Linked DNA regions of Homo sapiens: all the other regions are linked to region 5. Evidence: promoter capture Hi-C in human tissues and cell types (Jung and others, 2019). All regions are on one chromosome and are shown on one strand. Each heading gives the region's core, a stretch centred on a gene start or on the middle of the fragment in contact. The rest is flanking DNA. Distances are from core to core; before and after follow the strand shown.

Evidence for each region. The method cuts DNA at HindIII sites, captures the fragments that hold promoters and counts their contacts. A contact is called where the count stands out against the background at its distance.
Region 1: a fragment that was not itself captured here is called in contact with the fragment with the promoter of CFL1 in region 5 in 2 of the 25 tissues and cell types used here (dorsolateral prefrontal cortex and spleen).
Region 2: the fragment with the promoter of RAB1B here is called in contact with the fragment with the promoter of CFL1 in region 5 in 2 of the 25 tissues and cell types used here (lymphoblastoid cells and spleen).
Region 3: the fragment with the promoter of LTBP3 here is called in contact with the fragment with the promoter of CFL1 in region 5 in 1 of the 25 tissues and cell types used here (dorsolateral prefrontal cortex).
Region 4: a contact is called between a fragment that was not itself captured here and the fragment with the promoter of CFL1 in region 5, in 3 of the 25 tissues and cell types used here (lymphoblastoid cells, mesendoderm cells and spleen).
Region 6: a contact is called between a fragment that was not itself captured here and the fragment with the promoter of CFL1 in region 5, in 2 of the 25 tissues and cell types used here (dorsolateral prefrontal cortex and lymphoblastoid cells).
Region 7: a fragment that was not itself captured here is called in contact with the fragment with the promoter of CFL1 in region 5 in 1 of the 25 tissues and cell types used here (spleen).

Annotation. Positions count from the first base shown.
Region 1 is chr11:66,328,947-66,332,875 of GRCh38, forward strand. It overlaps RIN1 (Ras and Rab interactor 1), which reads right to left. Exons shown (of 10, transcript NM_004292.3): 10 at 1,295-3,806. The coding sequence ends at 3,330. Among named protein-coding and RNA genes, the nearest start is that of RIN1, 5.5 kb to the right of the region's middle. The HindIII fragment of the contact is 6,220 bases long and covers 1-3,929 here.
Region 2 is chr11:66,266,102-66,269,964 of GRCh38, forward strand. RAB1B (RAB1B, member RAS oncogene family) reads left to right here and starts at 2,538. Exons shown (of 6, transcript NM_030981.3): 1 at 2,538-2,592. The coding sequence starts at 2,579. KLC2 (kinesin light chain 2) reads left to right here. Exons shown (of 16, transcript NM_001318734.2): 14 at 1-116; 15 at 332-389; 16 at 772-1,759. The coding sequence ends at 855. KLC2-AS2 (KLC2 antisense RNA 2) reads right to left here and starts at 2,310. Exons shown (of 3, transcript NR_186342.1): 1 at 2,198-2,310; 2 at 1,954-2,107; 3 at 1,448-1,730. RefSeq lists enhancers at 108-990, 1,747-1,796, 2,097-2,146, 2,267-2,596, 2,757-3,638 and silencers at 1,247-1,296, 1,317-1,636. The HindIII fragment of the contact is 7,867 bases long and covers 1-3,863 here.
Region 3 is chr11:65,557,003-65,560,880 of GRCh38, forward strand. LTBP3 (latent transforming growth factor beta binding protein 3) reads right to left here and starts at 1,357. Exons shown (of 28, transcript NM_001130144.3): 1 at 627-1,357. The coding sequence starts at 957. RefSeq lists silencers at 1,186-1,425, 1,476-1,635. The HindIII fragment of the contact is 15,125 bases long and covers 1-3,878 here.
Region 4 is chr11:66,123,159-66,127,076 of GRCh38, forward strand. The region is part of intron 1 of PACS1 (phosphofurin acidic cluster sorting protein 1); the gene reads left to right. Among named protein-coding and RNA genes, the nearest start is that of PACS1, 55 kb to the left of the region's middle. RefSeq lists enhancers at 3,634-3,693, 3,640-3,918. The HindIII fragment of the contact is 8,035 bases long and covers 1-3,918 here.
Region 5 is chr11:65,856,930-65,860,706 of GRCh38, forward strand. It overlaps CFL1 (cofilin 1), which reads right to left and starts at 1,251. Exons shown (of 4, transcript NM_005507.3): 1 at 1,168-1,251. The coding sequence starts at 1,170. MUS81 (MUS81 structure-specific endonuclease subunit) reads left to right here and starts at 3,504. Exons shown (of 16, transcript NM_025128.5): 1 at 3,504-3,777. RefSeq lists silencers at 817-1,216, 2,627-2,706, 3,757-3,777 and enhancers at 823-1,363, 1,297-1,346, 1,737-1,806, 2,367-2,456, 2,977-3,026 and 2 more. The HindIII fragment of the contact is 15,299 bases long and covers 1-3,777 here.
Region 6 is chr11:65,495,193-65,499,135 of GRCh38, forward strand. It overlaps MALAT1 (metastasis associated lung adenocarcinoma transcript 1), which reads left to right and starts at 3,853. Exons shown (of 1, transcript NR_002819.5): 1 at 3,853-3,943. RefSeq lists enhancers at 1,845-3,044, 2,014-2,453, 2,240-2,384, 2,614-2,853, 2,914-2,983 and 2 more, a cis regulatory region at 2,305-2,320 and a silencer at 2,514-2,573. The HindIII fragment of the contact is 3,150 bases long and covers 334-3,483 here.
Region 7 is chr11:66,157,151-66,161,267 of GRCh38, forward strand. The region is part of intron 1 of PACS1 (phosphofurin acidic cluster sorting protein 1); the gene reads left to right. Among named protein-coding and RNA genes, the nearest start is that of PACS1, 89 kb to the left of the region's middle. The HindIII fragment of the contact is 3,109 bases long and covers 690-3,798 here.

The DNA of each region.
Region 1 (3,929 bases), core at 1,071-3,570, 470 kb after region 5:
ATGCAAATGGAGAGATGTGACCTATTTCCCTTTGGCTGGAGCTGGGGGCGCTTGGTGCTTGGTCTATAACAGACACTTCTGTTGTTGTTGTTGTTGTTTGATTTTTTTTTTTGGAGTCTTGCTCTGTCGCCCAGGCTGGAATGCAGTGGTGTGATCTCAGCTCACTGCAACCTCCACCTCCCAGGTTCAAGCAATTCTCCAGTCTCAGCCTCCCAAGTAGCTGGAACTACAGGCGTGAGCCACCTTGCCCAGCTAACTTCTATATTTTTAGTAGAGATGGGGTTTCACCATGTTGGCTAGGCTGGTCTTGAACTCCTGACCTCAGGTGATCTGCCTACCTCGGCCTCCCAGAGTGCTAGGATTACAGGCCTGAGCCACCTTGCCCGGCCTATAACAGATGTTTGATAGATGTGCTGAGTGGACATATAAATCAGCCCCTCTGCTTTGAAGGACTACAGAACCTGGTGTCTGAGCCCTTTGTCCTGTAACAAGGCACTTTCCCTGAGCAAGTCTGAGTTTTCTCATCTGTAAAATGGGGCTAGTGAGACTGGTCTTACACTGGCCTATCATTGTCTGCCTTGCCTGGAGGCTCTGCCCCAGGATCATAATCTTGTTGATGCTGATTTGGCCTGGACCCCTGACCAATCAGTTTCTTTTTTGTTTTCTTTTCATTTCTTTTTTTTTTTTGAGATGGAGTCTTGCTCTGTTGCCCAGGGTGGAGTGCAGTGGTGTGATCTCGGGTCACTGCAACCTCTGCCTCCCGGGTTCAAGTGATTCTCTTGCCTCAGCCTCCCCAGTAGCTGGGACTACAGGTGTGTGCCACGACGCCTGGCTAATTTTTGTATTTTTAGTAGAGACGGGGTTTCACCATGCTGGCCAGGCTGGTCTTGAACTCCTGACCTCAGGTGATCCACCGGCCTCGGCCTCCCAAAGTGTTGGGATTACAGGCGTGAGCCACCAGGCCCAGCCCAGAGTTTCTTGAGAAGAAAAACCACAAGACCCAGGCAGCAGCTCCCTGTGGTGCCCCATCACTGGGGAGGGCAGGGAGGGGGTCAGGTCATGCTGAGCCTGGCAAGGGTGGGAAGGGCTTGTAGAGGCCCCAGAGCCTCATTCCCATGAGGCCAGTTGTACATCCGGCCCCTGGGATCCTCCGAGCACCCTCTACAAACATTCCAGGTCCTTCCTCTGGGACTGAGCTTGACACATCCCGTGTTTGATTCCCAGAACCGAGTCCTCCCTTATACTCCCCAGGTTTCTGCCTCACTGTCCCTCACTCCTGGTTATCAAACTCCAATCAGTGAACAACATTTATTGAACACCTATGGCATTTGTGCTCAGCATTGGACTGTGTGAGGCACTAGGGGTGAGTGGTGAAACAGGGAGGGGAATAGAAGAGCCAACGGGACACTTCCTATCAGCGAGAACCTTGGGAGGGCGTGGAAGTGGGGAGGGAAGAGCTGCTGGTGGCCTAGTGACAAAAAAAATGGGAGCCGTGCAACTGGGCTGTATCTGGACTGCTCATCTGAAAGTCAATGTCTGGCTGGGTGTGGTAGCTCACGCCTGTAATCCCAGTACTTTGGGAGGCCAAGGCGGGCGGATCACCTGAGGTCGGGAGTTTGAGACCAGCCTGGCCAACATGGGGAAACCCCGTCTCTACTAGTAACACAAAAATTAGCCAGGTGTGGTGGTGCACACCTGTAGTCCCAGCTACTCGGGAGGCTGAGGCAGGAGAATCACTTGAACTGGGAGGCGAAGGTTGCTGTGAGCCGAGATGGCACCACTGCACTTTAGCCAGAGCGACAGAGCAAAACTCCATCTCAAACAAACAAACAAACAAAAAAACCCAAAAAGCCAATGTCCACGATTTCTACCTCCCAGTTGTCATGTCTGACATTTGGGCTGACGTCCCCTCTGTGCTCAGTGCCCGAGGAGAGAGCCTCTGGGGTCATCCTCCATAAGGGGACAATTCCTTCCTTCCTGGGGATGGCCCCCAAGAGGCTGGCCTTACCCAGACCCCAGAATCTAAGGGACCTGGGGGCCAGTGGCCTTGGCCCCTGCGCTGTCCCCAGGTTGCCTGATGCTGCTGGACTGCAAGGCCCGGGACCCCCTCTGCTGCTGCAGCCTTGGAGGCGCCCTCACCCCTGGGTGGTCACCCTCTCGGCAGATTCCCGGGCCGTGCACACCCCCTCGTGGTTGGTGGTCGGCACTTTTCCTTGTTTGGATTTGCTGCCTGCTCTGGGCTTCCTTGGGGGCTGCCCCGGCCTTTGTGGGTGGCTTAGAATGGAGGGTGGAGTTGGAACCTGATGCCCTGGTTTGGGCGGGGGAACCCTTAAGGACTTGCTATATGACATCCTGGGAGTCACTTTCCTGACCCTCAGTGGGCCCAACAAGTCATGGCCAAGTAAAGCTTTTGTGAGGGCCAAGAGTTTAGTGCAGAGAGCATGGTTTCTGAGCCCCCTCTCCATTCTGGAAGCTTATCTGCCAGCTGGTGGATCTCCCCAGAGATGCTGGAGGGCCTGGGAGGACTCCAAATCTTGGGGAGAGACTGTAACTTGGGTACTTTCTCCCCAGGGCCTGATTTCCAGGGGAATAACCTCCCTGAACTGGGCATCAGCAGGTGGGAGCCCTGTCTGGCAGAGAGCGGACTCCGGGAGAGAGTTAGCAGCCCAGCTCTCTCCCTCCCTTTCTGCCATGAGCTCTGCTTGTAGCAAAATCACCCATTTTGATCACTGGGACACTTCTGGGAGCCGAGCAGGGCAGCAATAGTGTCCCCACTTTACAGATGAGAGTACTGAGGCTTGCAGGTGCAGGTCCTTCTGGTGTCCAGGACAGGGGTGGGCCCCAAGCCTTTGCTGCTGTTCTGTGGCCTCTCTAAATCCTCCTGACACCTAAGAGCCATTGGAACCTTTTAGGGTCTGGAAGTCCCAGCCTGGTGGGAGATACTTGGGTGGAGCCCTGCCTCAGCCATGCCCATGAGGGGAAGGGTAAAAGGAGCTGAGACCGTCACCCTCCCCACGTCAGAGGTTGGGCATCTGTCGGATTCGCCCCCACTTGGCACACCCTCATTGCAGGCTGGCTCACCCTCAGCTGGGGGAGAAGAACAAGAGGCAAGGGGCCTTGGGCACACAGTCTGGGGGCCCCCGAAGCCCCCTCATCTTTATTCCAGTTCCTCAGATGTGGCAGTTCCCCCAGCTTCCCTGGAAACAAGTATCAGACAAAGGTGGTGGCAGACACAGGACAGGGCCCTGGGTGGGGCTTGCTGGCGCTAAAAGGATTTCTCAGCAGGCTCAGGGTCTCCCGCCCCGAATGACCCTTCTGGCCACTTCAAGCTACTCCTCTGCTGCCCGGCTTCCCTCTGCCTCTGGTTCCCCTGGCTGAGCAGGGCCTTCCTGGGCTTGACCCTGGCCCCCTTCAGCAGTTGTCTCAGACTGTTCCCGAATGTCCCTGGGGCTGGCTTTGACCCCAGCATCCCCATCTCCCTGGCACCCTTGCTCCTCCCCTCTGCTTCTTGCCTCTGACTGCCCACTGCCCTCCTCCTCTGTCACAGCCCCCTGGGTCTCAGGCCACTCCGCCCGGCGGTAGACGAGGTAGCCAGTGGTGGGCAGCCTGTGGGCCAGGGCCCCAGGGGGCAGGCGGTGGTAGCCCTGCTCCTTGTACAGGAAGAGGCCAAAAGTGTTGGGCTGGGTCACTCGGAACTTGGTGGCACAGAGCTGGTTCAGGGTGGCAATCGAGGCTTCTGGGGGCACGGCCAGGGTCTTGGAGGTGCAGCCACTGCTGGGATCCTGATAGGCTACTCGGAGGAGGTGCTATGCAGGAGGAGAAGCAAAAACAAGTACTCAGCCCCGGCTGGCATGCATCTGGCTCCAAAGCTGAGACATCAGCTTTCTGGGCTGTGCAGGGACAGGGTGGGTAGGTGGAGATCCAGTGGG
Region 2 (3,863 bases), core at 1,288-3,787, 410 kb after region 5:
GGCTCCTTGAGGCGCAGCGGTTCCTTTGGGAAACTCCGGGATGCCCTGAGGCGCAGCAGTGAGATGCTGGTAAAGAAGCTGCAGGGGGGCACCCCCCAGGAGCCCCCTAACCCCAGGTGAGCCCCCCACCAAGGTGAGCCTCAAGAACCACCCAGCAACCCCGGATGAGCTCCTGACCCAGAGTGTGCCCCACTGACCCCAGGCAACCTCCCCATCCCTCTCAGGCTCCACCACCCACCAGTCTGTTCCCTCCCCAGCCCCACCCTTCTCCCTGCCCCCATCTCCCGTGAGTTCCTCCTTGGGCAAATCCCAGGCTGTCCTTTTCCCTCAGGATGAAGCGGGCCAGTTCCCTCAACTTCCTCAACAAGAGCGTGGAAGAGCCGACCCAGGTAGGGGCAGGCGGGTGTCTGGGCACTGGGCAGCTGCGGCCGGGGCTGCATGCGTGCTGCCAAGCTTCCCTCCAGCATGCCTCTTCATCCAGCAACAGTTCCTGGCTCTGTCTCAGGCCTACTTTGGGCTGGACAACGGGGAGACACGAGGGGAACCCAGCCTCTCCTGGGGGTGGACGTGTAAACGGCCAGTGCTAACACCGTCACTGTGGAGATGGACGGGAGTGTCAGGGCACCAGGGTGTGGCCTTGGGTCAGAACTGCCATTGCCTCTGCCCAGCTCAGGGATTCCGGCTGCCTCTGCCAGGTCAGACCCCTTCAGGCCAGGGAGGCACAGACTGGCAGCAGCACAGGGCTGAGCCACCTGCCCCCTCTGCCCACAGCCTGGAGGCACAGGTCTCTCTGACAGCCGCACTCTCAGCTCCAGCTCCATGGACCTCTCCCGACGAAGCTCCCTGGTGGGCTAATGCTGAAGGGGCAGCCAGTCACCAGAGCGCCCACCTGGCACACCCCCCTCACCCCAGCCCTGCGCATGGGCCTGCTGCTTGTCCCGCCTGTCTCTCCCACAGCCCCTGTCTTTTCTGTTCAATCTCAGGGTAACCTTCTCCCTTGTCATCTCAGCCTGAGCCCTGGAGGCTGGGCCTGCCCACTCCAGCTCCATCCCTTATTTATTCCTTCCAGCAGGGCCCTCTTCCCTAGGTTCGGGCCAGCAGGAGGTGCCGGCTGGAGTCTCCACCATAGACTCAGTGGCCTGGCCTCCCCAGACCCCAGAGCCAAGAACACTAAGCACTCGCCGGCCCTTCGGCACCCTCGCCCTCCCTCCCGACTCAACCCGGCCGTTGCTTCTGTATATAGAGAAATAAGTTATTGGCCGCGCGCCTCCCTTCAGTCCACGGTACTACCCGGGCCTCCCCTCGTCCCTCTTCTAGTGGTACCGCCCAGGCCTTAATCACCCCCATTCCGTGCGGTGGTATCTCCCAGGCTCTACATTCTCGGGAGCGGCGCCTCCCAAGGGGGTCCTGGGACCTTCTCGCGCTCCTCCTGGCCTCTGAGGGATGCGTCCTACCCGCGCCATCGCCCCGTGGCCCAGGACGGGGACCTCCCCTTAGTCCGTCCTCCCACCGCCGGGCCCTGCCCCGCATCCCGGCCTTATGCACTGCCCCTCCCACCCGGCCCCGCCCAGGCACGGCCGACCCCGCCCCGGGCACCGCCCACCGAGCCATCCTGCCTCGCCTCCCCCCACGCCTGCAGCTTCTCGCGAGGGGCGGCGACGGTCCCCTGGTGGCAGGAGGGGCTCCCCCTGTTGCGGGTGAGGCGGCTGCTCTCATATTTTCAGATGTTGCTGTAGAAATAAAGACGGTTTAAATCTGAGCTGGGCTTGTTTTGAGACGGAGGTCGGGGGCCCCCAGCGTCTCTAGACTGGGGTGGAGCCGGGAAGGGTCGTGCGTGAGTGGGGGACAGTGTGTCTCGCTCAACCGCTGTCCGCGCAGCTGGGCCCAGATATTGTGCCCCACCCCGGAATTGCGTGAGGGGCCCACAAGTCAGGCTTTCCCTAAAACACTCACTTGTGGGGTTCTGGAGACCGCGGGCTCTTATGAGCTCTGCTCCTCACAAAGTTTTTGACCTTGAGTGAGTTTCCCGAGACTCAGTTTTTTCATCTATGAAATGCGGGTGATGACGCGCGGCTGCGAGTTAGGACTGCCCAGTACACGAAGAACCCTGGACAAATGTACTTTTATTAGTCTTACTAGAACCCACATTCTCATTTAATGTTCACAACGTGGGTATTGGGAGGGCAAGGATGACTACCTCCGTCAGACAGATGTGAAACGTGCCAAGCCCAGCCCTAAATTGAGCTTTCTAAACACCGAGTCGCGGTCAGGCTTTCCAGCACTGTCCTCAAGCCTGAGTGCGTCCGGAGTGCAAACTACAAGCCCCAGAAGGCAATGCGCCAGCAGTGATGGGAGTGGGCGCGGAGGCGCGGGCTCCCCGACTACGCCTGCGCAGCGGGGCTGAGTTGGAGAACGTCTTAGACTACAAGTTCCGGGAATCAGCGCGGCGAGGCCTGAGAAGAAGACGTTTGCGCCTGCGCGTCGCGGGCGGGGCCTCTGGGGCGGAGCGGCCACCATCTTGGAACGGGAGGCGGAGCAGAGTCGACTGGGAGCGACCGAGCGGGCCGCCGCCGCCGCCATGAACCCCGAATAGTGAGTGAGCCCCGCCCGCGCCGTCCAGCGCAGCCTCGATCCCGAATACAGGGCTGTACGCTTACCGGGGTTGTCTGGCCCGGGTCAGGACTGTGCGGCGCCCCCACATCCGGGTCCCTCTTCCGCTGACCCCCCCCCACATCCGGGTTCTGCCCCTCCCCCCAGGGGCCCCAGGACCCCGGCTCAAAACCCCGAGCCCTCGCACCCGGGGCCCAGACGTGGCGACCCCCAGGGGCAGCTCTTGGAGCTCGAGACATCGGTCCTACCAGGCCTTATCGGTCAGATGACCCCGCAGTCCCGGTCACTTCAGGCCTCAGTTTCCCCACCTGCTGCTTGACAACTGTCCCGGAGTTTTGGAGCCCGTCTTGATAGTTTCTGGTCTCGGGTTCAGGCTTGGGCCCTTTAGGTCGGGCAGTGAATCCCTCTACCCTTCTCTTTCTCCTGAAGCCCGGCTCCTGGGGCCGGCCCAGAAGCTAGCCAACTACGCGGGAGGCCCCGAAGCGCCGCTTGGGTCGCGTCTCCCGCAGGTCCTCTCTTCCGGGGCTGCCTCCTACCCTTTGCCTGGGTCGCGCTGTCCTGTCGCTCCCGCCGGTCCGTCCTTTCCCGCCCTCTCCTCGCTTTTGCTCAGGCCCCCAACGCCACCGTCACACCCCTTCCCTTGGCTGTCACACTGCCTGTGAAGTTTAGATGAATATGGAATTTGCTCTCCCCCTTCCTGTGGGATTCTCTGGTCCTCAAACTCTCCTCACTCTTGGTCACTCCCCCTGCGGGTAGGTGGCCCACATCTCATGCCCAGGACTAATAGTTTTCCCCAAGTATCAGTTATCTTCTTCCTTTTCTGCCACTTCCTTTTTCTACTCCACATCCAGGTCTCAGATTTCCTTGGGGAAGGGTGAAGCTCTGAGCTGGATTGGGAGGGGAACAGAGAAGGGAACCAGCAGGCTCTCGAAGGGACTTTGGAGTCTGAGAAACCTGGTTTGAGTCTTAAAGCGATAAACTGTGTAAGTTAGGGCAAGTCACTTCCCTTCTCTGGCCTCTGGTTTCCTCATTAGTTGACAATGACAAAACTGACTTCATTGAACTGTTGTGAAGATTAAATGAGATGATGCATTTAAAGTACTTCACACAGGGTCCGTCCACAGGTTGGAACTCAAGTATATTAAATGTGATTACCTTTTGCCTTTTTTTTTTTTTATTTTGAGACAGGGTCTCTCTCTGTCACCCAGGCTGGAGTGCAGTGGCGTGACGATGGCTCACTGCAGTCTCCAACT
Region 3 (3,878 bases), core at 107-2,606, 300 kb before region 5:
GCAGGATGTTAGGAGCTTATGGGGAGGCATTGGAAAAGGAGAGGCTGAGAACCCCGAACTAGTCCCTACCTTCAGGCCTGCACCCTACTTTTAGGCCTCAACACCCTCCCTACTCAGACCTTGCCAGTAGCCGGCTCCCATCCCCAGCCCTGACCTTAGCTCCTCCTCCCAGGGAATGCAGGTGTCTACTCTGGCAGGCCCTACTTTAGACATTTTGTAAAGACTTTTCTTGTTTCTTCCAGCAAGTCTGCTTCTTGCGGGAATATTTAGCCCTTCTCTGAGGCTTCCTGTCCCCGGCTCACATTCCTCAAAAACCCTGTGTGCTCCTGCTCAGAACTCAGCACCTTCTGGGAAGCCAGTGTCATCCAGGACCTCTGCATTTCCCCACCCCTTAGGCCCCAACCCTAACGCAAAGCTTCAAAGTCCAGGCCTCCATGCAGCCCTCCAACTCTGGCCCCCAGAGTTCCAGCCTCCCAAGTTCCCTGAGGCCCCTGGTCCCCCAGGCCCTCGGATCTCTGCCCTTTATACCCTCAGCCCCCAGTCTCTAAGGCCAAGACCCCACTAGCTCTCCCACCGGGCCTGGTGCCTGTCCTTCCCCTGCCCCCAGCCGTGCCCCCGGCCCTCACCCACGCGGAAGCCGGAGCCCGTGAGCGTGTCTGTGCTGTGGCCGTTCTCTCCGATGAGCGTCATGTTGGAGCCCTGCTGACAACTGTCCCGACACTGGCCCTTGAGACAGGTCCGCTTGCAGATCACCGGCGCAAAGACCACCTTGAAGCGCTCGCGGGCCAGCGCCCCGCCCCCGCCTGCGCCCCGCTCGCCGGCCGGCCCCCCCTCGACCCTGCCGCCCAGGCCCAGCAGCAGCAGCAGCAGCAGCAGCAGCAGCGCCAGCAGCCCCGCCGCCCCCGCCCCGCGCATCTCAGGGGCCAGGCCGCCAGCAGCCCCTCGGGGCCCGGGCATCCGGGGCCGCAGGACCCGGGGGAGGGGGGGCGCGCCCGGGCGGGGCGAGGGGCCCGCGCCCGAAGGGAGTAGAGGGCCGGGAGCCCCGGGAGAGGGTAGGGGGCAGCGAGGGAGGGCAGCGGGGGAAGCGGGCGGGAGGGGACCGCGGGGGCCCGGCGGGAGGCGCGGAGATGCAGACTGGACAGCGGGGAGCGCAGAAACTTCCCAGCCCCAGGACGAAGCCCAGACCAGGCCCCGAACTCAGGCAGGAGCGAGGAGGCCGGAGCAAGTTGAGGCGGAGAGGAGGAGCGAGGGAGAGGAAGGCCGGGCGGCCGGCCCGCTCCGCGCCTCCCCCTGGCCGGGCTCCTCTCCCGCGGCCGCGGGGAGGCAGGGAGCGCGCGGGGAGGGCTCAGGGAGAAGTGAGCAGTTGTTTTCCCTGGCTGGAGCGCGGCGCGGCGGCGGCGAGGGGGGCTGGGACGCTGGCCCCGGGCCAGGGACACAGTTTTTTTTTTTTTGTTGTTTAAAGCGTCGCCTCTGCCGCCTGGAGAAGCGAGGGTGTGCAGGCTGGCGGAGGCTGGGGGGTGGCGCGGGGACAGTCCCCACCCCAGATGCCCGCCCCCGCCGGAACCCGCGGCCGCGCTGGGCCCTTTCCAGAGGGCCCTCACCTGGGACCGTCTGGCCGGCCGCGGATTCCTCCGGGCGGGGCGGGGCGGGGAGGCCTGCGTAGAGCGAGATACCGAGGCTGAGGGAGAGAGGTGGCCCTGCCGGGTCACACTGACGATGGAGGCCGGGTGGAGCCGGAGCCCAGGCCTTCCAGCTCTTTCCCAGCCTCCCTTGCAAACGTGGGGGTCTCAGGGCCCCAAAGTAACTTCTCGTTAGTGCTGGTCCAATCCCCTCTGAGGAAAGGGCTAAAGGGTGGGGACAGCCTTTGGCCAGGGCTCACGGAGGTCCCAGGAGGAAGTCTGTGGGGTCCAGAAGAGGAGCAGAAAGAACAAAGCTAGAACCCAGCTTCCCTGCCAGCCCCCTCGGAATGGCTTCCTGGTGCCCACCCTGCCACCTCCCCCCTTTCCTTTCGTCTGGCCGTGCTGGCGGGGCTGGCTCTGGGCCTCAGACACTCTGGAATCGCCAAGGTCTGAGCTCAGGGCCTGGCCCCCTTCCCAGGCTAACAGCCGGGAGGACGGGGGCGCTGTCCGAGGGCCCAGGGGCTGGAGAGGGGCACAGCAGAGCCCCAGGGCAGGGGCTGGCAGCGGCTGGGGGTGGGGGTCTTCAGGTTGGCCATGGCTGGAGAGGAGCATAGTTCCAGACCAGGCTTGTCCGCTGGTCTGGAAGGAAAGGCTGCAACGTGCGGGGGCCCAGGCCTTACTGTGGGGCCTGCCAGGAGACCCCAGGGTTCCGTCTCTGACTCACAGAACTCAGCAGGAGGTGGGGACGGCTAGGGCACATCCAGGAAAAGCGCTGCCAAGTCAGGGCGGCACCAGACCCTCTCCCGGACAGCACCCGGGGCAGCAGTCTAATTGGGGAGAGGAGGTTCAGGGACTCACTTTCAGGCACACCTGTCCAAGGAACTCTGTTTTTACTTTGAGCGTAAGTTGATGTGGGTAGCTTTAGGGGGACGCTTAGTAAGTCCCCCTTACTAAGCGGTGCAGGGCTGGGAGGGACAATCACATGTCCCCAGGGATCCCTGCTGCCGGAATCCAGGATGGGGTGTGAGGGGCAAGCCCCTGCTTCTTGGGGCCCTGGTCCACACGGAGGCAGGGAATAATGCTAGGTGCCGACCACCTGCCAGGCACAGGGCTGAGCATTGTATACTCATTTTTTCCTAACACTCATCTGAACCTGTCCTGACTCTGCCTAGAGCTGGCTGTGGCTCACCATGGAGCACAGCACAGTCAAACAGTCCAGGGTTGGATTCTTACTGTCTCTAAGCCCCAGTTTCCTTGCTTGTGAGATGGGTATCTATTCACTCAACATCTATGTTCAACTACTGGTAATAAAAAACAAAAAATTAAAAAATAAATGTAAAAAATTCACTCAACAAACTGAGACTCCACCACATCCTAAGCTCTTGGCCACAAATAGAACCAGTCCTGCCTTCCTGGAGCTGCTGTACTAGGAGAGCTGGATATGTGCCAGATCAATTCACACAGAACTGTGGCTACAACAGAGGCTGGTACCGTGACAGAGAAGGGCAGGGAAGCAGGACAGGAGAGGGCTGGGACCTGGGAGACAAAGAGAGTCTTCCATCGGAAGCTGGAAGATGAGTAGGAGTGAGTCACACCTGTGGGCATCTGACCTCAGGGGAGGCTGCAGGGGGAGGCTATCCAGAGAACTGAGGGAAGGCCAGTGGAACAACAGGGTGTGGTGGAGAGGGAGAGCCGAAGGTGTAGTGGTGGTGGGAGGGGCCGGCCATGGTGAGGAATTTGCTTTTATTCTCATTGCAGTGGGACTGTGTCAGGGCAAGAGCGGGCACTCTGCCTTCATCCCAGGAGAGAGATCTCACTTGGCCCTGGGAGAGATGTATTTGGGAGGGGAGATGTAAAGACTGGGTGAAGTAGGGGTGCTGGAGAGGTAGGTGGCATGAATGGCCCCCAGATTCCTGGCCTGATCTCTGGATGGGCGAAGAAGAGGGGAGGCAGAGGAGCTGGAAACATGGGGCAGGGTCCACAGCTCTGTTCTGGTCCTGCTGAGTTTGAGATGCTTGTGAGTCATCCAAGTGGAGGTGCCCGAACCCGGGAGTCTGCAGCTCAGACAGGATGTCTGGCCTGGAGACAGAGGCTTGGGGTTATACAGGGGGCATCTACGACAGCGGGAAAGGGTGGGCTTACTATGGAGAGAAGAGAGCCCAGGGTGCCCAGGGAGATCACTGTTCCCGGGTCAGGGAGAGGAGGCGGAGTCAGGCAGGGAGAGGAGGCGGAGTCAGGCGAAAGACCAGAAAGAGCAGC
Region 4 (3,918 bases), core at 66-2,565, 270 kb after region 5:
CAACTTGCAGAGGGCTCAGAAAATTGTTAGCTTTTTTTTTTTTTTTTTAATGAGACGGAGTCTTGCTTGGTTGCCCGGGCTAGAGTGCAGTAGCATGGTCTTGGCTCACTGCAACCTCCGCCTTCTGGGTTCAAGCAATTCTCCTGTCTCAGCCTCCCAAGTAGCTAGGATTATAGGCACGTGCCACCATGTCCAGCTAATTTTTGTATTTTTAGTAGAGACAGGGTTTTGCCATGTTGGCCAGGCTAGTCTTGAACTCCTGACCTAAGGTGATCCACCTGCCTCGGCCTCCCAAAATGCTGGGATTATAGGCGTGAGCCACCACGCCTGGCTCAATAAGCCATTTTTATTTTTTTATTTTATTTATTTATTTATTTTTTTGGGACAGAGTTTCGCTCTGTCGCCCAGGCTAGAGTGCTGTGGCGTGATCTCGGCTCACTGCAAGCTCCACCTACCGGGTTCATGCCATTCTCCTGCCTCAGCCTCCCAAGTAGCTGGGACTATAGGCACCTGCCACCGCGCCCGGCTAATTTTTGTTGTTTTTAGTAGAGGTGGGGTTTCACCGTGTTAGCCAGGATGATCTCGATCTCCTGACCTCGTGATCCACCCACCTCAGCCTCCCAAAGTGCTGGGATTACAGGCGTGAGCCACCGCACCCAGCCCATTTTTAAATTAAAGTATATACTTTTTTTTTTTTTAAGACAATGCTATTGCACAGTTGATAGACTACTGTATAGTGTAAACATAACTTTTATATGCACCGGGAAATAAATAATTTCATGTCACTTGCGTTATTGCAGTGGTCTGGAACTAAAGCCACAATATCTCCAAGGAACTGTTTACTTGCTGTCTCGCTATCAGACTGTGAGACTGTCAAGGGCAGGCATTCTGCGCAGCTTTGGCAATACCGTCTAGTTGTAAAAAAGACGGAACTGTTTCAGGCCATGGGCATTCTAGTGGGAAGACAAATATTTAATCTCAAGTGTGCAAAATGCTGCCATAGAACAGGAGTGCAGTGGAGCATAATAGGAGCTCTGGACCTTGTCTGAACACATAAAAGAAGCCTTTTTCCTAAGGAGTGATTGCTTAAGTTGAAACCTGAAGGATGTGTGGGAATTAGCTAAGTGAAGAGAAGGAAGAGTTCCAGGCAGAGAAAACTGTGGACATAATGGCTTTGGGCAAGTTACTCAGCTTCTTCTCTGCTTCAGTGTCTTCATCTATAAAATGGGAATAATATAACCTAGAGTTATATAGTTAGGGTTGTTGTGATCATAAAGACAGTATTTTAAGTCATCATCTTCTAATATTTCTGAAGTGGGGCATAATTGGTTCATTCAGGATAACTTCTGGGTCCACGTTTATGTATTGAATGGCTAAATGTATGGATCTGCTTACTGCACTTTAACCTTGTTCTTTACCTGCTCTGAAGCCTTTCTTGCATTTTAATGACAAGAACGGTGTATTTTGCCTTTCAGTGAGTTTGTTAATTATGGAGATCAAACTCTGCCTTTCATTACTGCATAAGTCTCATGGTGTGTCAGACATCTTAGGTCAGTGTGTGTCATCAGTTAGAATGCTTTCACCTTCAAGAAACAGAAAAGCCAGCTCAATGACTTAAACACACAGATGTTTATCATTTCAGAAAACAAAAGTCTGGGGCAAGGGTGAGTCCAGTGCTGGTTAACTGAGCAGCCTGGCAAAGGCATCAAGGAGCCAAGTTCATTTTGCCCTCCTGCTTTGTCATCCTCAGTACAGGCTTGCCCGCTGGCTCCCCATGGTCTCAGGTGGCCTGTCGCAGTTCCAGGTGCCACAGGGAGACACCAGAACATCCCATTGAGGAGGAGGAACTGTTTCTTTCCATGTCTGTCTCTTTATTGATGAACATTTGGGTGGCTTCCACCTTTTGTCCATTGTGAATAATGCTGCTATGAACATTGGTGAACAATAAATTCTTTTTAAAAATACAGCATCTAGGGGCTAAGCTATGAGGATGCAGAGGCATAAGAATGATACAATGGACTTTGGGGACTCGGGTGAAAGGGCAGGAGGCAGGTGAGGGATAAAATACTGCAAATTGGGTACAGTGTATACTGCTTGGGTGTTGGGTGCACCAAAATCTCAAAAACCTACGGAAATAAAAAATTAAAGTACCACATCAATTAATGCGTAGACCAAATCTTATTGCAATTAAATTTCTACTTTTAGCATCATTTGCTACAATGAAGTTCTAGTATTTGAAATATTTTGAGCCACTGACTTGCTGTTTAATGGGATTTGATCCCATAGTAAAGAAGATATAAACCAAGTAAGTCAAAAGGATCTTAGAAGCAATTTTATTCCATCCTCTATTTTGAAGATGTTCTGGATTCAGAGTGATTTTCCAGGGTCAGAGAGCTAAGTCATGTTAAATAATTCAAAGTGTATGAAAATACACATTACTCACAGATTCAAGTAGAGTAACCAGGGGTGTCTTTTGCCTCTAGTCTTACTCTAACCAGTGTCTAACTATGCCTGTGTAGATAAAATAAAATAGAAAACTGGGATAATTCAGGTATTCAAGTAATTGAAGAAAATCAGTCCTGTTTAAAATATCTGGGCAGGCCGGGCATGGTGGCTCATGCCTGTAATCCCAGCACTTTGGGAGGCCGAGGCAGGCAGATTACTTGAGGTCGGGAGTTCAAGACCAGCCTGGCCAACATGGTGAAACCTCGTCTCTACTAAAAATACAAAAATTAGTCATGCATGGCGGCGCATGCCTGTAATCCCAGCTACTCGGGAGGCTGAGGCAGGAGAATTGCTTGAGTCCAGGGAGCAGAGGTTACAGTGAGCCGAGATTGTACCATTGCACTCTAGCCTGGGTGACAGAGCAAGACTCTGCCTCAAAAAAAAAAAAAAAAAAATGTGGGCAACTCTAATACTTAGCTTTTAGGTATTTGCTTCAGTAGTCCACTTTATGTGTTAGTGTTCGACATTACTAGTGGGATTTTGCTTCTCATGCTCTATTTTCTGATTTCTATCACCAGTGGTTTCATAGTTGTATACAGTAATCTCTGGTTAGAGACAGAGGCAGTGGCCTGCTGGGGAACACACCAGACGGAAAGTGAGAGTTCCTTGTTTTGGGCTTTACTTTGCCCTTGACTTCCAGTAATCAGGGTGTTTCCTTGTTCTGAAACACGCTTGTGTTAGTCACAACAGGTTCACAACTGGCAGACAGGTAATCCCTGAACAAGTAAATCCCAGTGGAACCAGAAAACTGGGTCTTGTTTTCCTTAATTGGAACCTGACTTAGAATCAGCTATTGAACTGGGAAACAAACAAAAAATAAGTGTTAGCCATTAGAAAATGAATTTAAATTACTGGTCTGTCCCTATTTAGAATTTCTTGCAATCATTTCCACTGTATGTAACACTGAAATCCTTTGTGGTTGTCTGCTGCAAAAGTGAATCTTTGACCCAGCAACTTTAAATGCTTTTGACACCATTGGGAATTTTGAGAATTGTTAATTTAATCTGCACTTGTCCTAGGTGGGGGTGGGGATGAGGGAGAAGTGATGTCCTTTTGCATTGGCAGTTATGCTGTTTGTAAGCAGAGGCTTGTGCTTCTGGAACTTATGTTTACTAGGGAGTGATTATTAGCATAATAAGTATCATATTCTAGCTTTTATTTCTGGAGGCAGTAAAGAGCCAGCCAAGCAGAGAGAAGAGTGGGAGGTGACTGGCAGCAAGGGCCTCGTCGCTATTAGTGCAACACTGCTGCGGGTGGAGGAGCTTTTCATCAAAGCAGGAAGAAGGGGAGGCCTTTTCTGCCTATGACTCCAACTTCCCTGCATGCCACGTCTTTGCAGGCCTGCAGTGAGGTTAGGATGTAAACGACTTTCTTTTCTTTCCCATCCCAAGCTCATCATGGGTTCTCTCTAAC
Region 5 (3,777 bases), core at 1-2,500:
CTCTGCGTCGTGCTTCGGGGTGCCCGAGCCAGGAGAGGGAGGGGCAATCCAAGGTAAATCTGGTCCCCCAAACTCCCCGGAACTGCAGAAGAAGCCGGCCACGTGACTCGGCCGCATCCGGAGTGGGCGGGGACAGGAGATCGGCTGGGCCCGGCCCCCTCACCAATGCAGAAACGCGTATCCGAGAGGCAGCAGCATCTCCAGGTCCCTAACCCTGTGGAATCGCCCTAAAACAACGGGTGTATCAGACCCATCTCCTGCAGGCAGGAGCCTGGGCAAGCTACATAACCTTCGGTTTTCTCAGCCCTCGGGCCGTATACAGGGGGCGGGGTGGTTTCCGGGCGGTGCCCGCCTGGGTCACTTCCCTAAACTCGGCTCCACCCTCACTCAGGCCCATCCGGGAAGGCCTCGCTGGCCCAGGGCTTCGGCACCGGCGGCCGGGCCTGAGCGTGCGCGCACGCGCCGACAGACAGCGCCGTTCCAGCCCTCGCCCGATGCACGGGTGAGAACGCAGCTCGTTAGATGCGCTCCCGAACGGGCCGCGGTCTCTGCGATGCCCCCTCCAAGCCTTGCGGTGCAAGGCCTTAATCGCAGGCACCCACGCCCCAACCGGGACCCCGTCTTCCCAGCATCACCCCTCGCCGCGCCAGCACCCGCCCCTCCCGGGCGCAGGCATCCCTGCCACCTGCTCCCGAGACGGACCCGGCTGCCGAGGGAGGGTGACGCGCAGACAGGAACAGCCTTGGGTGGGGCGCGCGCGCCGAGACCTCTCGCGCGCTTTTTCCTCGCCGCCCCCGGGCCGGGTTTGGACGCCGCATGCTCCAGTCGAGAGCGCGCCCCTAAGAAGAAAGGCGCGACGCCGGCCGTTCCGCGAGGGGCGCCCCAGCGCGCGCCCCGAACCCCTCCCCCCGCGGCCGGTGTCCGCGCGGGCGCACCAGCGGGTGGGGGAGGGGAGCCCAGGCGGAGCGCGAGCGACGTCCAGACCGGCCCTCCCCGGCGCCCACGGGCGCGCACGCGCATTCCGGCACCGCCCGCCCCTTCGTGCGAGACCCTCATCCCGCCCGGGGCGCTGGGGGAGGGGGTGCGGACGTCGCTCCCCAGTCGCTTCCCGCGCGCAGGCGACCGACCCGCAGCCGCCTCCCTCAGGCGCCGTGGCCTGCCGCTCACCATGTTTCCGGAAACGAAAAGGAGAGGGCACCGAGAGCCGCAGAAGACGAGAGCGCTGCAGCCGCTGCCGGGACCCGACTGAACGCGGCCTCTCCCGGCCCCTTCCGTTTAGTAGGAGCCGCACAATGAGGGGTGGGGCGGGCTTCCGGCGCTCCCACCGCGAGCCGACGGGAAATGGAGTCCGCTGGCCCTGCGCCGCCGCCTCGCTCGCTGGGTAACGGAGTCTTCCCGCCGGCCGGCTCCGAGCTGCAGTGCATGTAGGGAAATGTAGGCCCAGGTCCTGGGCGGCACCGCAGCGCGCAGCGCGAGCCCATTGGTCCAATTTCCCAGGAACCGCTCTGAGCCCGGCGAGGCGGCGCTCAGTAAAATGACCCGAAAACGATCCCCGACTAAGCGGCTCTTTATCCCACAGCAAAACGGCTTTCTTAAGACCCATCTGGTATTATCTGGATCCCTTGGCCTGAAATTTTTGAGTGAGGTTAGGGTTTTGCATTTCTGAATCGAAGCAACTATTGATTAGCCTGGAATCCCGACCTAAAGCAAAGGAAATCACAAGTATGAAGGCGTCGTCAGTCGGATAAACACTAGTACTCTGCATGTGTAAAGCCACTCTCGTCTCCTGAAAAAAGGCCATGTCCAACGTCAGTAAAACAAGAATAGGAGGAAAAGGCACAGGGGAAAGGTACAAGGAAATCTCTGAGAGCTTTGTTCTTGTTTAAAGATGTTTGGCAAAGTCATGAGGCGTTAAAGGGTAAAGACGAGGGTTTGTGCATTCAATTCAAGGCTTCTTTACATGCCTTTACGTGCCAATGAGAAGAAATAGATATTAAACCAGACTTGAACCCAGCTCTCGAGTTGATAGCCAGGTACATGGTTATTCTAACATCCGCAAAACTGAGACAAGTTCTGTGGTAGTATATGCCTTAAAAAAAAAAAGAAACGAGCGGGGGACTCCGGGATGATTTTGTTGTTCTAGAACAGTGACCACAGCCTCACACTCTGCAGGAAAAGACTGGGTCGCAAACAAGTCAGAGGCAAACCCAGAAAGGGAACTGGGGGCCCTAATCCTATAAACGGAATTAAGGGTGTAAACGGAGAGCGATGCCTGGGAGTGGGGTACCTTGCAGAGCATACCGGGGGTTGTAGTCGGGGACATTCCACAGCACCGCCCCCGCCCGGACTCCCGGCGCTCCAGGTGGAGACAGCAGCTTGACCCCGCCTCCCGCGAGCGACCCTACATGAATATGAGGCTAGCGCCCCCTTTTCTGAGCCTTAGAGTTTCCAAGAGCAACGGGGAGAGAGAGGGGGGCTTCGCAGTTACCCTGGAGACGCGCTCTCGCCCGCCCCCAGCCGCGGGATGCCCTAGATGTCCTTATTAGGACAAGAGACTCGAGGGGGCGGGGCCAGCCCGACAGCCGGCTTGAGGCTCCTTATAAGGCCGCGGCGGGCGGGAGGCGGGAGCCGGAGCCCATTGGTCCAATTTAGCTTGGCTGGGGCTACTGCGCCGTGGGCTAGGCACAGTCCTGAGGGGCGGGACTGGAGCTCTGGCGCCCACCTCTCCCTTCCTCGCAGGCTGGAGACCTGCGTGTTGCGACTTCCGGCATAGCAGCTAGAGGCCGGGTGCTGCTTCAAACCCTGGCGGGTCGCCTGTGTCCAACTCAGCTATACGTGTCTTTCAGGCTTCTCAGGTTGAAGCCCTTTGTAGGGTTTCCATCTTCAACCTCCCTGAGGGTCTCCCACTTCCGATTAGCCACAAAAATGACGAAGTGTTCTCCCCTCTACCTGTGTCTGGGCTTCTTAACCCGCAGCCTGCTCCTCCGCTCCCAAACCCAACCGCGTGCCCATCTCAGGCCTCCCCAACTGCCAGGATGCCCAAGCACCTCTTACTTACAGTCCTCCTTCCTCTAGGCCTCTGACCCCCGACATTCCGAGTTCTATTTTGGGCCTTCTCGGCACGTCCCCGACTTCCTCTCCACCACACACTCTTTGCCCTGTATCCCGGGGATGAGGATCACCATTTCCTCCAAGGGTCCTGCAGCTCCTCCTGCCTTACCTTTGTGTCCTCATCCCCGGCACCCATTTCTGGGTGTCCCTCCCACCAATACGTTTGCACCCGTTTGTCTCCTAGCCCCCGCCTCTCCTGGACTCTTTTCAAGACCAGTCTCCATCTCCAGCCTCCTTCAAGCTTGAGGCTGAAGCTGACAATCTTAAGAGACCTTAGAGCCGCCAAGCTCAGGTTAGTCCGTTAAGCGCCGCCCAGCCAGTCCTCCCCGTCACAGGGGGCGCTGTCCGCCTTCCTCTCGCCTACACAAAGACCCCGCTCTCGAATCTGGGGTGACAGGAAGGAGCCGGTCCAGGCTCCGGGGGCTGGGAAAGGGCGCGTCTCAAAGGCTGGCTGGAGTGGAGCCAAGGGAAAAGATCGTTAGAGACAGCGCCCCTGACCAACCACTTAGAGCAGCGCAGGGGTGGGAGGGCGGCCGCAGGCTCTCCTCTCGTTAGTGCCCCCTGTGTTTGGGGCCCCGTGATCTCAACGGTCCTGCCCTCGGTCTCCCTCTTCCCCCGCCCCGCCCTGGGCCAGGTGTTCGAATCCCGACTCCAGAACTGGCGGCG
Region 6 (3,943 bases), core at 659-3,158, 360 kb before region 5:
ATTACAGGCGCACGCCACCACACCTGGCTGATTTTTGCATTTTTAGTAGAGACGGGGTGTTACCAAGTTGGACAGGCTGGTCTGGAACTCCTGACCTCATGTGATCCAACCGCCTTGGCCCCTTTATGGGTTTTCACATTTGTGGATTCAAACAACTGTGAATCAAAAATATTTTTAAAGGCCGGGCATGGTGGGTCACACCTGTAATCCCAGCACTTTGGGAGGCCAAGGGAGGCAGATCATCTGAGGTCAGGAGTTCGAGACCAGCCTGACCAACATGGTGAAACCCTGTCTCTACTAAAAATACAAAAAAAATTAGCCGGGCGTGGTGGTGCGTACCTGTAATCCCAGCTACTCGGCAGGCTGAGGGAGGAGAATCGCTTGAACCTGGGAGGTGGAGCTTGCAGTGAGCCGAGATCGCGCCATTGCACTCCAGCCTGGGCTACAAGAGTGAAACTCCATCTCAAAAAAAAAAAAAAAAAAAAGAAAAATTTTTAAAAATTGAATCTGTATTGAACATATACAGACTTCGTTTCTTGTTATTACTCCCTCATTAATACAATATAAAAATTATTTACGTTGTATTAGGTATTATAAGCAAACTAGAGATGATTTAAGGGATATGGGAGGATATCTGTAGGTTACATAAGGAACTTGAGCATCTTCAGATTTTAGCATCCGAGGAGAGGTTTTAGAACCAAGGCCCCATGGATACCAAGGGATGACTGTACAACATTCTGGCGGCTGGGCACAGTGGCTCAAGCCTGTAATCCCAGCACTTTGGGAGGCCGAGGCGGGCGGATCACGAGGTCAGGAGATCCAGACCATCCTGGTTAACACGGTGAAACCCTGTCTCTGCTAAAACTACAAAAAATTAGTCGGGCGTGGTGGCGGGCGCCTGTAGTACCAGCTACTCGGGAGGCTGAGGCAAGTGAATTGCTTGAACCAGGGAGGCGGAGGTTACGGTGAGCCGAGATCCCGCCACTGCACTCCAGCCTCAGCGATAGAGTGAGACTTCGTCTCAAAAAAAAAAAAAAAGAAACATTCTGTAATCTGTCAAGGTAATGGAAATTAATGCAGTGACACTGACAATAATTTAAAGCATTTTAGGGCTCTTAACGTTCATCTCACTCGCTCTAGAGTGAAGGAGAGAGCAGAGAGTACAGAGCAGGTCCTAGGTCCTCCCCCAGATATAGAAAAACCGCAGTTGGAGAGACTGACAGAAGTGCTGGAGAGGAAGGGAGGCAGCAGGACGTGGAAAATCTGGGATTCAAGAACAGCTTCTGCTATTAATTAGCTGTGTGTCATTTCAGGCAAATCACAAAATCTCCAGGCCCCCAAATCCCCATTTGCGAAACGAGGTGACCTGCCTCAGTTTTCCTTCATCCAGCGATAAAATTCTACTAAAAAATTTCCAACCCCAGAGCAAGCATCAGGACTGTGCCTGAAGGGATCCGGCTGCATCTCAGTAATATTCCACTCTTACAGGCTTAAAAATAAAAAAGAAAAGAAAAGAAAACAAGAACAGTTTCACCAGCGTCAATTGAGAACAGCTGCTTCAACAGGCCCTGCTTTATGTGGGCAGGTGGGGACAGGGAGTTGGCCCAGAAAACAGGACCCTCATTTCCTGGAGCCCCCAGGGCAGCTCCCCAACACCGTACACAACCTGCATCATTTACAGGAGCCAAAGGAGTTTTAGAAATCAACTTCATAGAGTTGCTGTATCATTGTGTTAGTTTTGCCATCCTAACCTATACAGCGTCACTAATCTCTCCCCTCGGAGTTGACTGCCTAAAAACAAGCCATGGATACAGGTTCCAAAGACCCGGGGGTGAGGGAGCGGAGAGGGTGGGTGTCACCACCCCGTCCAGCTCCAAGCTTTGTGTGCCCTGGAACTCTCCATTTTAGGTCATTGCTTCAGTTTCTTTTCTAAAAAATTAGGCTGCTGCAAGGTCAGCCTGAGACCACTTCTGCCCCGAGAATTCTAGACTAGTAAGACCTGGTGACATACAAACGACGAAGATATTTTACAATAATGCCATGGCCCTTGATAGCTACACGAGGTTTGTGTTCTGATTTTAAATTAATGGATGACGTCGAGACTATATGGAGGAAATGACAAAGGACAGGAGAGAGGTGGGAAAGGAAGACCTAGACTGAAAATGGAAGTTGGGCAGCAGCTCCACGAAAGAAAGACCAGCCCCCAAGTGCAGTGACAGCGCAGAGTAGCGACCGAGAAGTTCCCAGGCCAGCTGCCACCCCGCCCCCATGCCATTCCCCAGAACAGGCACAGGCGTTAGGGCGGGGCGCGCGTGCGCAGTCACGCGCTGCGCCAACCGCCACAGCTCCGGGAAGGCGGCCAGGACCGGCTAGAGCCGGTTAGAACCAGTGGCGCCCGCCCACGAGCCAGCGCCTCACAAAGGGAGGGCGGCTCACGGCCCTCGCGTATCCCTGCGCGGCGCTCGCGAGCCGCCCCTCCCCCGGCGTTTGTCCCTGACGCAGCCCCACCGGTTGCGCAGTCCCTCCCCGCCCCCGCTCTCCCCTCCGCAGCCTGCAGCCCGAGACTTCTGTAAAGGACTGGGGCCCCGCAACTGGCCTCTCCTGCCCTCTTAAGCGCAGCGCCATTTTAGCAACGCAGAAGCCCGGCGCCGGGAAGCCTCAGCTCGCCTGAAGGCAGGTCCCCTCTGACGCCTCCGGGAGCCCAGGTTTCCCAGAGTCCTTGGGACGCAGCGACGAGTTGTGCTGCTATCTTAGCTGTCCTTATAGGCTGGCCATTCCAGGTGGTGGTATTTAGATAAAACCACTCAAACTCTGCAGTTTGGTCTTGGGGTTTGGAGGAAAGCTTTTATTTTTCTTCCTGCTCCGGTTCAGAAGGTCTGAAGCTCATACCTAACCAGGCATAACACAGAATCTGCAAAACAAAAACCCCTAAAAAAGCAGACCCAGAGCAGTGTAAACACTTCTGGGTGTGTCCCTGACTGGCTGCCCAAGGTCTCTGTGTCTTCGGAGACAAAGCCATTCGCTTAGTTGGTCTACTTTAAAAGGCCACTTGAACTCGCTTTCCATGGCGATTTGCCTTGTGAGCACTTTCAGGAGAGCCTGGAAGCTGAAAAACGGTAGAAAAATTTCCGTGCGGGCCGTGGGGGGCTGGCGGCAACTGGGGGGCCGCAGATCAGAGTGGGCCACTGGCAGCCAACGGCCCCCGGGGCTCAGGCGGGGAGCAGCTCTGTGGTGTGGGATTGAGGCGTTTTCCAAGAGTGGGTTTTCACGTTTCTAAGATTTCCCAAGCAGACAGCCCGTGCTGCTCCGATTTCTCGAACAAAAAAGCAAAACGTGTGGCTGTCTTGGGAGCAAGTCGCAGGACTGCAAGCAGTTGGGGGAGAAAGTCCGCCATTTTGCCACTTCTCAACCGTCCCTGCAAGGCTGGGGCTCAGTTGCGTAATGGAAAGTAAAGCCCTGAACTATCACACTTTAATCTTCCTTCAAAAGGTGGTAAACTATACCTACTGTCCCTCAAGAGAACACAAGAAGTGCTTTAAGAGGTATTTTAAAAGTTCCGGGGGTTTTGTGAGGTGTTTGATGACCCGTTTAAAATATGATTTCCATGTTTCTTTTGTCTAAAGTTTGCAGCTCAAATCTTTCCACACGCTAGTAATTTAAGTATTTCTGCATGTGTAGTTTGCATTCAAGTTCCATAAGCTGTTAAGAAAAATCTAGAAAAGTAAAACTAGAACCTATTTTTAACCGAAGAACTACTTTTTGCCTCCCTCACAAAGGCGGCGGAAGGTGATCGAATTCCGGTGATGCGAGTTGTTCTCCGTCTATAAATACGCCTCGCCCGAGCTGTGCGGTAGGCATTGAGGCAGCCAGCGCAGGGGCTTCTGCTGAGGGGGCAGGCGGAGCTTGAGGAAACCGCAGATAAGTTTTTTTCTCTTTGAAAGAT
Region 7 (4,117 bases), core at 994-3,493, 300 kb after region 5:
GAAAAGATGGAGAAATGAGATGGATTATATTTCCTCCCTCCCCAACCCCACTAAAATGACAGTAAAGGAATTTTCTTTTAAAAAAGTTACAAATCTATAAGGATGAAGAGATTGGGAGAGGAGATCACAGTGGGCCAGAATTTTTCCCTACAAAATTTTGAAAACTGAAATGTAGGTGCATATATGATGAGTCATTTAGGTTTCAACTTCATCTGCTCCACTAAGTATTTGCAGTGGAGGAAGCTAACAGGAAGCAATCCTGTTTTCAGCCACATGTGGGCCATGTTCTGAGATAAGTTTTAGGTACCTGTGAATATAGGATATACACTGGGGCTGAAAACAGGAAAATGAGTTGAAAGTCTGAATGTGGAAGAGTTAGCACCCCAGATCCCCATCCCCAAAGAATATGTGTGTCAAAGTCTAACCTGGGGAAACCCTGTTATAAATGAGGGTGGGAGGCAGGTTTCTTACCCAAAATAGTAGATCAAGTTGAAGTCTGCATATTCAGCCAGATCTTTCCACCTACCTTCCTGTCTTGGCTGTGGGACTTGTTATCACAGACACCATCTCTGCCCACCAAGACATTGAAAGACCTCAGAGCAACTGACCCATCCTTGGCTCCTAGAATACTCATTTATAAGCCCCTCAGCCAGGACATTATCACATTTCTGTCTGGGGAAATTGACTAGCCTATGGGAAAAAAAAAAAACCTAACATGGTATTTAGAATTTCCTTATCCCATCACATGCTGTGAGGTCCCACAGGAAGCAAGCGGTGCTTATCCACATAGAATTTCTAGTTAGCTCTTTAGCACCTCTTTTGTTTTTTGAGACAGGGTCTGGCTCTGTTGCCCAGGCTGGAGTGCAGTGGCATGATCACAGTCTTGGCTCACTGCAGCCTCCTTCCCCTGGACTCAAGTGATCTTCTCACCTCAGCCTCCCGAGTAACTGAGACTACAGATACGCGCCACCACACTTGGCTAATTTTTTTGTATTTTTTGTAGAGACAAGGTTTTGCCATGTTGCCCAGACTAGTCTCGAGCTCCTGAGCTCAAGTGATCCACTGGCTTTGGCTTCCCAAAGTGCTGGGACTACACGTGTGAGCCACTGTGCCCGGCCTGCACTTTGAAAAACAAATTCCTTAGAGATAAGATGTTACATCAAGGAAACAAGAGCAGGATGCCATGTAAAGGAACTATTCAAGAATGTTCTTGAGAATTGAAAAATCTCACTAAGTGAAGATTGCAGTAAAGCAGTTGGAAGATAGGCCGGGCGTGGTGGCTTACAACTGTAATTCCAACACTTTGGGAGGCCAGTGTTGATGGCTCACTTGAGACCAGGACTTTAAGACCAGCCTGTGCAATATGGTGATGATACCCTGTCTCTACAAAAACAGAAAAAACTAACTGGGTATGGTGGGGCACACCCCTAGTTCTAAGTACTTGGGTGGCTGAGGTGGGAGTATTGCGTGAGCCCAGGAGTTCTAGGCTGCAGTGAGCTATGACCACACCACCACACTCCAACCTGGGTGGCAGAGAGAGTAAAGTAAAGCAGTTGGTCAAAGATAATAGACAATAAGTGGAAGAAAAAAGAAAATTAAAGGACATCTAGGAGGTCCAACATCTGACTATTGGAGTTCTAGAAAGATGAAGGACAAGGCATTATTTAAAAAGCAACACAAGAGGTTTTCCCCAAAAATGTCTCAGATGGATAAGAGCTCACCCAGTGTCCAGAATGAAAAAAGTGATGAAAAAGACCCTCAACAGAGTACATTGTCATGAAATTTTGTGACACTGATGACAAATTTTAAAAGCATCAGAGAGAAAAGTCACATAAAAATGATCTAAAACAAGTGACATTAGACCAGTTAACAATAGCACTGGGATCTATAAGATAATAGATGAATGCCATCTAAAGCCTGATGGAAAAATTTTCAGTCTATAATTCTACACCTAGTCAAACTGTCAAATCAAGAGTGAAAAATGTTTTCAGAAATGCAGGGTCTCGGCCGGGCGTGGTGGCTCACGCCTATAATCCCAGCACTTTGGGAGGCCAAGGCAGGTGGATCACCTGAAGTCGGGAGTTCGAGACCAGCCTGACCAACATGGGGAAACCCCATCTCTACTAAAAATACAAAATTAGCTGGGCGTGGTGGCACATGCCTGTAATCCCAGATACTCAGGAAGCTGAGGCAGGAGAATCACTTGAACCCGGGAGACGGAGGTTGCCGTGACCCAAGATCACGCCATTGCCCTCCAGCCTGGGCAACAAGAGCAAAACTCAGTCTCAAAAAAAAAAAAGAAATATTGAGTCAAAGAGTATGTGCATATGCAAGGTGGGGAGACATTACCAAACTGCCCTCCATAGGGGTGTGCCAGTTACATTCCCACAAGCTAGGTACCAGTGCCTGCTTCCCCACAGCCTGGCCAAGAGATTGTCGTAGGTTTTTCAGTTTTGGGGGTGGGGGAGCGGGTGGTATTTGCTGATCTGGTAAATGTAGGATGGCAGCTGTTTAGTGTTGATCAATCCACCCTTATGAGACTGACATGGAAGGTTACTCCACTTTCACAGAAACAGTGGAAAAAGTCCAGCTATCTTTACATTTAACAAGCTGTAAGGAAATGCTAATGGATTAAGAAATTAACCACAGGACCTAATTAGAAAAAGATCTGGCAACATGCCCAGCTCATCCAGCGGGAGAGGGAGAAAATATTCTGCATTCGTGACACTGTTTAGAAAGGGGTAATTTAAATGCCCTTTAATCTGGGCTAGTATTGTCCAATTAAGAAGTCTGTTAGGATGATAACACTTGGGTTTTTTAATACTTAGTGTGGTGAAGCAGATTTATTTTCTCCCCTTAGTATATTTATATTGAATGGTAAAGGTTATAGTTTAATTAAATAAGCTACACATTTCCTGTTTTCTTTTAAACCACTGTGCTAGGAGTTAGATTCATTAAGAGTTGGACATGGTCTCTGTTCTTCAACACATTAGCGCAATGTGACTGTAATTCAAATTGGAGTTTGACACCCAAGTTTTATATCTAATTTAGGCAGCCTAACCTAGTTAACACAGATTGGTGCTAGATCCTGGCTGACACCTACTAGCTGCGTGACCTCAGGTAAACTACTGAAGTTTTCTGCACCTCAGTTTTCTCAAATATAAAATAAAGATTATAATTGTTTTGAAGATTAAATTATATACATTGCACATAACAGTATCTGGCTTATAGTGTTATATGTTTGCCAGTATGATGTTACACCCCCACAAATTGTGAAAGTTTTGTTTAAAAATATATTTTCCTGATTAAAAAAATTAATGCATGATCTTTATAGGAAATGTGGGATATATAGAAAAGCTTATTTTTTTTTGAGATGAGGTCCCTTGGCCAAGATGGTGTACGGTAGCCCTAACATGACTCACTGTATCCTCAATCTCCTGGGCTCGAGTGATTCTCCCACCTCAGCCTCCCAAGTAGCTAGGACTACAGGCATGTGCCACCATGCCTGGCTGATTTTTTTTTTTTTTTTTTTTTTTGGCAGGGGAGTGAGGGTGGGGATGACGTCTCACTATGTTTCCCAGGCTGGTCTTGAACTCCTTAGGCTCAAGCGATCCTCCTGCCTCGGCCTCCCAAAGTGCTGGGATTATAGGTGTGAGCCACTGCACCTGACCAAAAAGCATTTTTTAAAAACTCATCTATCACCTCACCACTAATAGAACAGTGTTAGCATCTGGGCACATCCTCAGAGGCAGTCTTGCTTGCATTGTGGTTAAGAACATGGACTCTGAAGCCACCTACCTGGGTTCATATTCAGGTCCCGCTGTTTACTAATCTCTGTTCATCTCTCTCAGTTTCCTCATCTGTAAGATGTGGCTAATAGTACCCCTCACTTAGTGAGGATAAAAGATGCTAATATATGTAGAGCATCTAGAATAGGCGAGGCAGAGGTAAGTGTATGTGTTTGTGTTGTTGTTGTTATTCTGTGTGTATGGCCAAAGTTTAAAGAAATTTCATCAGCCTCTGAAATAGAGAATATATATATGGCACTCATGAGTGGTGCCGGCAGGCAAGAAGTGCTACAGGGGATAAACAAACATACACAAATATGTAATTTCCG